Regions from separate parts of the Homo sapiens genome. Here region 2 is linked to region 1. Evidence: promoter capture Hi-C in 16 types of primary human blood cells and fetal thymus (Javierre and others, 2016). All regions are on one chromosome and are shown on one strand. Each heading gives the region's core, a stretch centred on a gene start or on the middle of the fragment in contact. The rest is flanking DNA. Distances are from core to core; before and after follow the strand shown.

What was found. Contacts are between HindIII fragments. The CHiCAGO score rates a contact against its expected background, and 5 or more counts as called.
Region 2: a contact is called between a fragment that was not itself captured here and the fragment with the promoter of IL10 in region 1, in 1 of 17 cell types (endothelial precursors). The highest score is 6.8, in endothelial precursors.

Annotation. Positions count from the first base shown.
Region 1 is chr1:206,771,244-206,774,750 of GRCh38, reverse strand. It overlaps IL10 (interleukin 10), which reads left to right and starts at 2,257. Exons shown (of 5, transcript NM_000572.3): 1 at 2,257-2,480; 2 at 3,336-3,395. The coding sequence starts at 2,316. All of the region lies in intron 1 of IL19 (interleukin 19), which reads right to left. RefSeq lists cis regulatory regions at 2,007-2,546, 2,007-2,628. The HindIII fragment of the contact is 1,546 bases long and covers 1,546-3,091 here.
Region 2 is chr1:207,481,778-207,488,044 of GRCh38, reverse strand. It overlaps CR2 (complement C3d receptor 2), which reads right to left. Exons shown (of 20, transcript NM_001006658.3): 19 at 2,473-2,581. The coding sequence ends at 2,491. Among named protein-coding and RNA genes, the nearest start is that of CR1, 11 kb to the left of the region's middle. The HindIII fragment of the contact is 1,036 bases long and covers 1,516-2,551 here.

The DNA.
Region 1 (3,507 bases), core at 1,008-3,507:
TTGGTGCTAAGTACCAAGTACGCAAAGATTAATAAAACAATGTCCTGTTTCAGGGAGCTCAAAGCTGATTCGGCAGGGCATGGTGTGTACATGAATGATAACCACGTAGGGTTGCAGGTTTCCTAGTGAGGTAAGCACAAGGCAAGATGGGAAACAAAGGAAGGAGGGGTTCACAGCCTCACCCAGAGTCCAGAACCCCTGGCCTGCCTGGTGCCCATGCTGAGTCCACTTCTGGAACACCCAGCTCAGAGAGGGGGTTAGACCTGCAGGCTAACACAGACACAGCCCAGAAAACCCAGGAGCCGAGGGGGAAGGAGAAAGGTGCAAGAAGGGGAAACCCAGGTCCTGGTCCCCTTCTCTCTGCTTCCTGGCAGCAGAACTCAGACAGAACCCTTAAGCCAGTCTAAGTCTGGCAGGACCAGTAAGTTCTGAGTTAGCTCCATACTAGTTTCTAGCAGGCTCTTTCTCACTTCCTGATTCTTAGGTTTCTACATTGACACTCCCTGAAGAGTTGGGAAGAGACACCACAGTCCCCTGACCCTGATCCATAGGTCACACAGCAGGGACATCCACAGGGTGGGCGTGGGCCCTCTCATCCCTCCCTCCCACTCACTTCACGCTGGCTGGGCCCCAAGGTGTTTGCACCCCTTGCAGTGAGTGACCTTCTCTAGTGCAGCAAGCTCAGAACCTGCTGCCACTGGAGTTGTCCCATTGCTGATGCAGAAAGGTGAAGAACTAGCAGAACACTGGAAATGCCCTCCATCTGGGTCCATGGCTACTTAAGCTCAATGCTCCCTGGCAGGCAGGAGGACAGGTGCTATTGCCCTGTTGGGACAGATGAAAAACAGACACAGGGAGGATGAGTGATTTGCCCTGACTATAGAGTGGCAGGGCCAAGGCAGAGCCCAGGCCTCCTGCACCTAGGTCAGTGTTCCTCCCAGTTACAGTCTAAACTGGAATGGCAGGCAAAGCCCCTGTGGAAGGGGAAGGTGAAGGCTCAATCAAAGGATCCCCAGAGACTTTCCAGATATCTGAAGAAGTCCTGATGTCACTGCCCCGGTCCTTCCCCAGGTAGAGCAACACTCCTCGCCGCAACCCAACTGGCTCCCCTTACCTTCTACACACACACACACACACACACACACACACACACACACACACACAAATCCAAGACAACACTACTAAGGCTTCTTTGGGAAGGGGAAGTAGGGATAGGTAAGAGGAAAGTAAGGGACCTCCTATCCAGCCTCCATGGAATCCTGACTTCTTTTCCTTGTTATTTCAACTTCTTCCACCCCATCTTTTAAACTTTAGACTCCAGCCACAGAAGCTTACAACTAAAAGAAACTCTAAGGCCAATTTAATCCAAGGTTTCATTCTATGTGCTGGAGATGGTGTACAGTAGGGTGAGGAAACCAAATTCTCAGTTGGCACTGGTGTACCCTTGTACAGGTGATGTAATATCTCTGTGCCTCAGTTTGCTCACTATAAAATAGAGACGGTAGGGGTCATGGTGAGCACTACCTGACTAGCATATAAGAAGCTTTCAGCAAGTGCAGACTACTCTTACCCACTTCCCCCAAGCACAGTTGGGGTGGGGGACAGCTGAAGAGGTGGAAACATGTGCCTGAGAATCCTAATGAAATCGGGGTAAAGGAGCCTGGAACACATCCTGTGACCCCGCCTGTACTGTAGGAAGCCAGTCTCTGGAAAGTAAAATGGAAGGGCTGCTTGGGAACTTTGAGGATATTTAGCCCACCCCCTCATTTTTACTTGGGGAAACTAAGGCCCAGAGACCTAAGGTGACTGCCTAAGTTAGCAAGGAGAAGTCTTGGGTATTCATCCCAGGTTGGGGGGACCCAATTATTTCTCAATCCCATTGTATTCTGGAATGGGCAATTTGTCCACGTCACTGTGACCTAGGAACACGCGAATGAGAACCCACAGCTGAGGGCCTCTGCGCACAGAACAGCTGTTCTCCCCAGGAAATCAACTTTTTTTAATTGAGAAGCTAAAAAATTATTCTAAGAGAGGTAGCCCATCCTAAAAATAGCTGTAATGCAGAAGTTCATGTTCAACCAATCATTTTTGCTTACGATGCAAAAATTGAAAACTAAGTTTATTAGAGAGGTTAGAGAAGGAGGAGCTCTAAGCAGAAAAAATCCTGTGCCGGGAAACCTTGATTGTGGCTTTTTAATGAATGAAGAGGCCTCCCTGAGCTTACAATATAAAAGGGGGACAGAGAGGTGAAGGTCTACACATCAGGGGCTTGCTCTTGCAAAACCAAACCACAAGACAGACTTGCAAAAGAAGGCATGCACAGCTCAGCACTGCTCTGTTGCCTGGTCCTCCTGACTGGGGTGAGGGCCAGCCCAGGCCAGGGCACCCAGTCTGAGAACAGCTGCACCCACTTCCCAGGCAACCTGCCTAACATGCTTCGAGATCTCCGAGATGCCTTCAGCAGAGTGAAGACTTTCTTTGTGAGTATGATTCCTTCCTGTCCTTTCTCTCTTCCTGGGACTGCCTGAACTAGACATTCTCCTGGAACTATAAGAACCCTCCTCCTGCGCCTCCACCTCCATCCCCAACACCTATTCCCCCAAACTTAAATTCTTAAGAGAATCCTAGATCAAGCCATGGGTTTGGTGAGTTAAGCTAAGCCAGATGATACAGTAAATGTGCAGGAAACCTGCCTTATAAAGTAAATGCGTTCTCTCTCGTGCTGAGAAACTTATAAGATCCTGCTGGCGCTCTATACTTTATTGGCTAGGAGAAGTAAAGAAATGTCTGATTCGAGGTGAAGATGCTCCCCATGCCTTGCAGCAGGGAAATTTAAATTGCCTCTGCTTAGAGCGTTTCCAGACCTGAAAGACCAGTGGTTTAGGGAAGCACTCTACATGAGGGAAACCTGCATTAGAAGGAGCTTCTTAATCCCTGGGATCTTTCCAAGCTAAACTGGATGTCTACAGTGGGGAGAAAGAAAAGCAGAGAACAGGACATGAGGGGGGCTCAAGGCCCCGAAGGGTTGACATAGGTGTCCCTTAAAGCCGAATGTAGCTCCGCAGAAAGAAGACCAGGACTGAGTCAAGCTTCTGCTTTCCCTTCAAAATCGGCCAGATTTTTTAAATAACTTGACTCTGAGGAGGAGGACCTGATTTAAGTGATGGTCCCATCACTGTTGAATCCTCTGTTTTTAAAACTCCCCTTTTGATTTTTTTGGGCCAGAGCCAATTTTATTTAAAAAAAAAAATCTCTAAATGAAAGGGCATCAAAAAGACCGCATTTCAGTTATTTCCCCAAACCTCAAGTTCATTCTCCTTTTGTTCTTCCTGCAGCAAATGAAGGATCAGCTGGACAACTTGTTGTTAAAGGAGTCCTTGCTGGAGGACTTTAAGGTGAGAGCAGGGGCGGGGTGCTGGGGGAGTGTGCAGCATGATTAAGGGAAGGGAGACTCTGCTTCCTGATTGCAGGGAATTGGGTTTGTTTCCTTCGCTTTGAAAAGGAGAA
Region 2 (6,267 bases), core at 784-3,283, 710 kb before region 1:
TGTACTCCCTATAATTCAGTCTTCAGTTCTTAGTTGATGATTTAATGCCTTCCTTTTTCTTCTTAACTCTCTAATACCTCCTTTCTGAGCCTCACTCTCACCTGAATAATTTGCTTTCTATTCACTGAGAAGACTGAATCATCGGAAGAGAACTTCCACACGTTCACTCCCCATCACAGCTCCCAACCTGCCTTCATCTGCACCTGCAGATTCTGCCCTCCCTCCTGTTACTAAGCCCACGCAGCTAGGAGCTCCTCTGCTTAATCTGTTCCTCCTAGCTTACCCAGACCTTGTTCGAGCAATTCTTCTCTCTCTTTCTGCCATCACTCTTTCCCTTTCTACTAAATTATTCCCATCATCATGTAGGAATAGGGCATAACTGCTATTTCTCCAATCTTAAAAAATATTTCTGTTGACTTTATGTTTTACTCTTACTAGCACTTTACTTATTTGCTCCTTTTTATAGAAAAAAACCTAGAAAGAGTTGTCTGTATTTGATAGCTGCAATTTCTCTCCTTTCATTCTCTCTTAAGCTCCGTCCAGTCAGGCTCCTGCCTCCTTCCTCTCTTCAAAAACTGTCTTGTCAAGTTCAGCAGCAAATTTTGTGCTGCTTGCCTATAATCCCAGCTACTCAGGAGACTGAGGCATGAGAATCACTTGAACCTAGGAAGTAGAGGCTGCAGTGAGCTGAGATCACACCACTGCACTCCAGCCTGGGCGACAGAGTGAGACCCTGTCTCAAACAACAACAGCAAAAAAATTGTGCTACTGAATTTCAATGGTCAGTTTTCAGGGCTCATTTTTTTGGCCTACCAGCAACACTGGACAGAGTTGATCACTCCCTCCTCCCTAAAATTCTTTCTTTGCCTGACTTTAAGGTTCTTCTCTGGATAGTATCAGAGGCTGCTCCTTCACTTCTTAGTGGGTGCCTTCTCACTCCATGACTTCTAATGTTGGAGGATCCAGGGCTCAGTACTTGGACCTTTTCTTTTTGCTAGCCTCTTTCACTTCTCGGAGATCTTATTCAGTCTCCTTGTTATGTACAACCACATGATGACAAAGCCCAAATTTTTATCTCCAGCCTGGACCAATTGCCCAAAATACAGACTTGTACATCAGCTGTCTTCTTGCCAAGTCTATTAGACATCCACATTTAACATCTCCACAGTGGAACTCCTGATTTTTCTCCCCAGTCCTGCTCTTTGCAATCTCAATCATGTAATTAATGGCAGTTCTATCCTTCCAGTTGCTTAGGCAAAAGCCCTCGTGTCATTATTGACAGCTCTCTTCCTCTCATATTCTGATACAAACTATCCACGAATCCTACTGTCACTGTCTTAAAATTGCATGCAGAATCTGGCCTCTTCTTACAACCTGGTGGTAGCCACTGACAATTTCTTGCCTGGATGATTGCAGCAGCCTCCTCATTGACTCCCATCTTCCACCCATGGCTTCCTACAGTCTGTTCTTAACACAGCAGTTAAGGTGAATGTGTTGCTCCTCTCCTTAAAAGCTTCCAAATAAAAACCAATCTCTTTACCATGACCTAGCACACTTTATACAATCATCCTCTCCTGCCCACCATCCCATTACAATGACATAGCAGACTTTGTACGATCATCCTCTCGCCCACATCCCACCCCCATCTCTGTGACTTCATCTCTACAACTGTAGGCCACACTGGCCTCCTTGCTGTGCCGCCAACACAGCTGGCACACACTGCCTTATGGCCTTTGCACCTACTGTTCTTTCTGGAATCCTCCTCCCTCATATGGCCACATGGCTGGCTTTTTTTTTTTTTTTTTTTTTTTTTTGAGATGCAGTCTTGCTCTGTTGTCCAGGCTGGGGTACAGTGGCGCAGTCTTGGCTCACTGCAACCTCCGCCTCCTAGGCTCAAGTGATTCTCCTGCCTCAGCCTCCCGAGTAGCTGGGACCACAGGTGCACACCACCACGCTTGGCTAATTTTTGTATTTTTAGTAGAGACAGGGTTTTACCATGTTGAACAGAGTGGTCTCGAACTCTTGACCTCAAATGATCTGCCTGCCTCAGCCTCCCAAAGTGCTGGGATTACAGGCGTGAGCCACCAAGGCCGGCCCTGGCTCTTTACTTCCCTTGAGTTTTTTCTCAAATGACATTCTCTTAGTAAGAGCTTCCCTTGCGACCACCCTGTTCTCTTTATCCCCCTTGCCTGCTTTATTATGTCTCTATATAATGCTTATCATCTTATTGATTTTATTCTTAGTTGTTTTGCTATTTAGTTTAATATTTGTTGAATGGATGAATGGATTAAAAAATTGGAACATTAGTTGGCAAAATGAAGTAGGTAAATGAACAATTGCTATGCATGATTACTGAAGACTTGTGCAATAGTAAGAAGCATGTATATACACCGTGAATGCTACGCTTATTGATAAATACAAGTTGAAGGAAATTTTATATGTAAATTAATAATATTCCATTTCATTACATACCACCAGTTTGTCTTCTGATCAGCTGGCTGGGTTGTATGGATCAACAGAATATACTTCTCGTGCTTCTAAATGAAAAGCTTCTTTCTGGCTTGTATCTGTATAATAATTGCTAAACAGAAGAAGAAAGAAAAATGTAATATCTTTACTCATTGACCATGTTTCAATGTAGCAGTTGTTTGCTTTCCATAATTCCCAACACATGGTAAGTACTTTTGTGGATGATTTCATTTTTTTAAATTATACTTTAAGTTCTGGGATACATGTGCAGAATGTGCAGGTTTGTTACATAGGTATACATGTGCCACGGTGGTTTGCTGCACCCAACAACCCGTCATCTACATTAGGTATTTCTCCTAATACTATCCCTCCCCTAACCCCCAACCCTGTGAAAGGTCCCAGTGTATGATGTTTCCCTCCCTGTGCCCACATGTTCTCATTGTTCAACTTTCATTTACAAGTGAGAACATACGGTGTTTGGTTTTCTGTGATGATTTCATTTTTATTGTTTTTATCCTATGAAGTGTAAACACTGTAACTCCATTTTTTGGAAAGGCACATAAAAAATGAATGATCTAGGCTTGTAAGTGTTCAAGTCAGAGGCTGACACTAAGCAGCTTTACCCTAGGATCCAGGACGCTTAATGACTAACAACTACAACTTCCAAATTGAAGAAAAGAAGCAAAAATAAGTTCTTATTTTAGATCATAACTTTACCCTTTTGGGACTCAATGTTCTAGTCTGACTTAAAAGCTTTAAACGAGTTTGAAGAGAATGTTTTTACTTTCCTTCTTTGAAAGTACACATATTTCATTGTGCTTCTAAAACCACTTTGCCAGAATTACTAAAAGACAATAAAATGTGATTATACTACCATGTAAAGCTCTAAAATAACATAATACAAAATTACTGGGGAAGAAAGAATACTGCTAAAGACACTGACAGCATGTCACTCACTAGAATATTGAAGAGTTCCGTGTACAGGAGATATGTTAAGAAGATTATAAAACAGTAATTTTTAGGTCAATGTGAGATTTAAGCTTTGTTACAATATCTTAGATGACTAGAAAAGAATAGCATAGTGTCTTTCAAGTGTTTAGATGGCTTTTCAAAATATTTAATATTGTCACTAGACATTCATTTTTAAATGATTACTCATCTCATTTAAAAAAGCATTTCAGGCCATTCAAGTGTCTTTATCAATTATTGGAAAATCAATTGAAGTGGGTTAGCAAATGGAAATAAATGAATGGCAACTAGGAATCTGGTTAAACAGGTATGTTTGCTTCATATCAGTTGAGGCACTTAAGTATAGTACATGATATAATCATATTAATAAACAATAATTAGACTGGAATATTATAAATTATTTGCACTTGTAAGCATTCCCCAAATTTGCAAATTTTTATACACATGCAGTGCTCTGATAGCAAACTCAGTAGCATGAAGGAAAGAGATAGAGACTGTATTTTCTATGTATTTACATTTCTAATGCCTCTTGGCTGAAATTATCTTGTGACTTCCTATGAGGAAGGCCCTGCAAATGACATCCCTAATTTTTTTTGAGACCCTTTTCTCCTTGAATTCTGTGACGCTACTCTCTGCTAGTTTTCCCCCTGCCTCTCTTCCTTCACTTTCTGCCTTTTGAACATTACTGTTCTTCTGAGGGCTGTTCTCATCCCAATTTTTATCTGTTCTGTTCTTTTTGGTTCCACAGCTTTCATTGTGATTTAAGTGTCACCCACCCGAGTCCAGACCCTTCTCCCAAGCCCTAAATCATGAGTACCTCAAAGTACCAGGTCAGAACCGAACTCCTCATCTTCCCCCACAAATCCTGCCCCTCTCCTCTTTTAGTGAGTCAGGGGGTCCACCTCATCGCCTTCATGTGAGCCATTCTATGTGCCTCCTTCTCCCCACATCCAGCATGTCACCAAGTCCTGGAAATCCTGTCCTCTTGATAGCAAAAAACCTCTTATTAAATATTCTCATGGTCCTTGTGATTCTCCACAAGAAAAAAAAACAGTGTGCAGTATGTCCAAATCTTATTTGCCATAGAACACCCTTTTTTTCTGAAGTCATTCATGAAAGCAGGGTTGTGTGGTACACACTCTGGTAAACTCTACACTCTAAGTACACGCTAACTGTACAGGACAGCCAGAACCCCATAGGCAGCCCTCACCCTCCCGCCTCCAGCCTAGAACAAACTGCCCAGGTTCGTAGATACCCTCAGTACATAGTTTCAGTGCAACCCCTTCATGTCTGAGCCTATTCTAGGAATTACATAACTGAGCCATGGCATCAGATGGCACTGGTGGCAGGGTAAATGATAGATGCAGGGGACTTGGCACGTGAAAGAAATTTTGCTGGAGCTTTTTGGTGACATGTTTTAGGTGGCATGACTTGGTCATCTCCCCACTCGGAGCTACCTGAGAGTTGGTAAGACTTCATTGGATTATCCGCCCTAACACTAGCATGTACAAAGACTCACGAACCTATGCACACATAACATCCGAGGCCAACACCTGACGGTATGCTTTGTTAAAAATGTATCCTTTGCACATATTAGTATTCTGTAGCTTCCACAAGATTTACGTGTCAGGGTTTTTTTTTTTTTTCTTTAATGGCATGTCTCCACCTAAAGCTATGCCACTTTCGCCTTCAATCACCATCACACACACACTATTTCCCAGCCATTTCAAATGGGTTATGTAGTTCTCACAACACATGATGGAAAGCCAAGCCTCTGGGCCTTTATTCAAACTGCTCTTTCTGTCTGGAATGCCTTTCTCTTCTTGTCTACACTCTCTTGAGGCTCACCTGAAACATCTCTTCCACGCTGAAACTTTTCCTGATTAAAACTCCCAAATATTGACCATTTGCTTTGCATCCTCACCAAATATCATATAATCCACCATGGCGACGTTATTTTATGGTACTTGTTTAGCGACATGCTTGTCCTCCTTTACCAGGCTGTGACCTCCTTGATGACAGAGGCCATATGCTACTAGGCTTTGTGATTCTAGCCTAGTATAGTGCTAAGGCATAGTAGGCACTCAGCCATTGTTGTATAAGAAAAGAATGGATGGACGTGGTCATTCCTCTTTTCGCATGACTTCTATTTCTCTAACATTACTGCTCAAATGTTTTAAAAGCCATGCATGTATATACTAGATAGAGCAACATATGAAAGTATCTACAGCAAATTGCTGACATCCATCAACTTAATATGTTGGACTTGAAGGCACCAGCAGTTGTTCAGTGGAAGAGACTATTCAGTATCTTTATAAACTAATTTGCTACAACAAGCATATTTACTTTTGTATTTTAAAAATTTATGCAAATATTTATAGTGATATAAAAATATGCTTAAAGAAGGGAAACAAGATTTTTCAGTGATTTTAAATAGGGAAAAACAACTTTTGTGACTATAAATACACTTTATGTAATATAGAAAAGAAAAAAGGATGCAGTATCATTTTTAGTGATAAAACACTAGAGGCTTTATATTAAAAATAAAGGTTAAAATATGCCAATATTCCCTAATATTACTGAAGATTTTCCTTAAAATTCTTCTCAGTAAAATGAGACAAAAACAAATAAATGAAAATGTATAATCGGTAGATATGAGGTAGAAATTATTTCTACCAATAATAATAATTGGTAGAAAATATAGTTTTCTACTTAGATGATTGGGTAACTCACTGAAAAGCTATTAGAATTAATGACTGTATAAAGATAGACTTTCCTAGATATCATTTGCAATTACTTATAAGACATAACCAAAAATGATTCTATTTA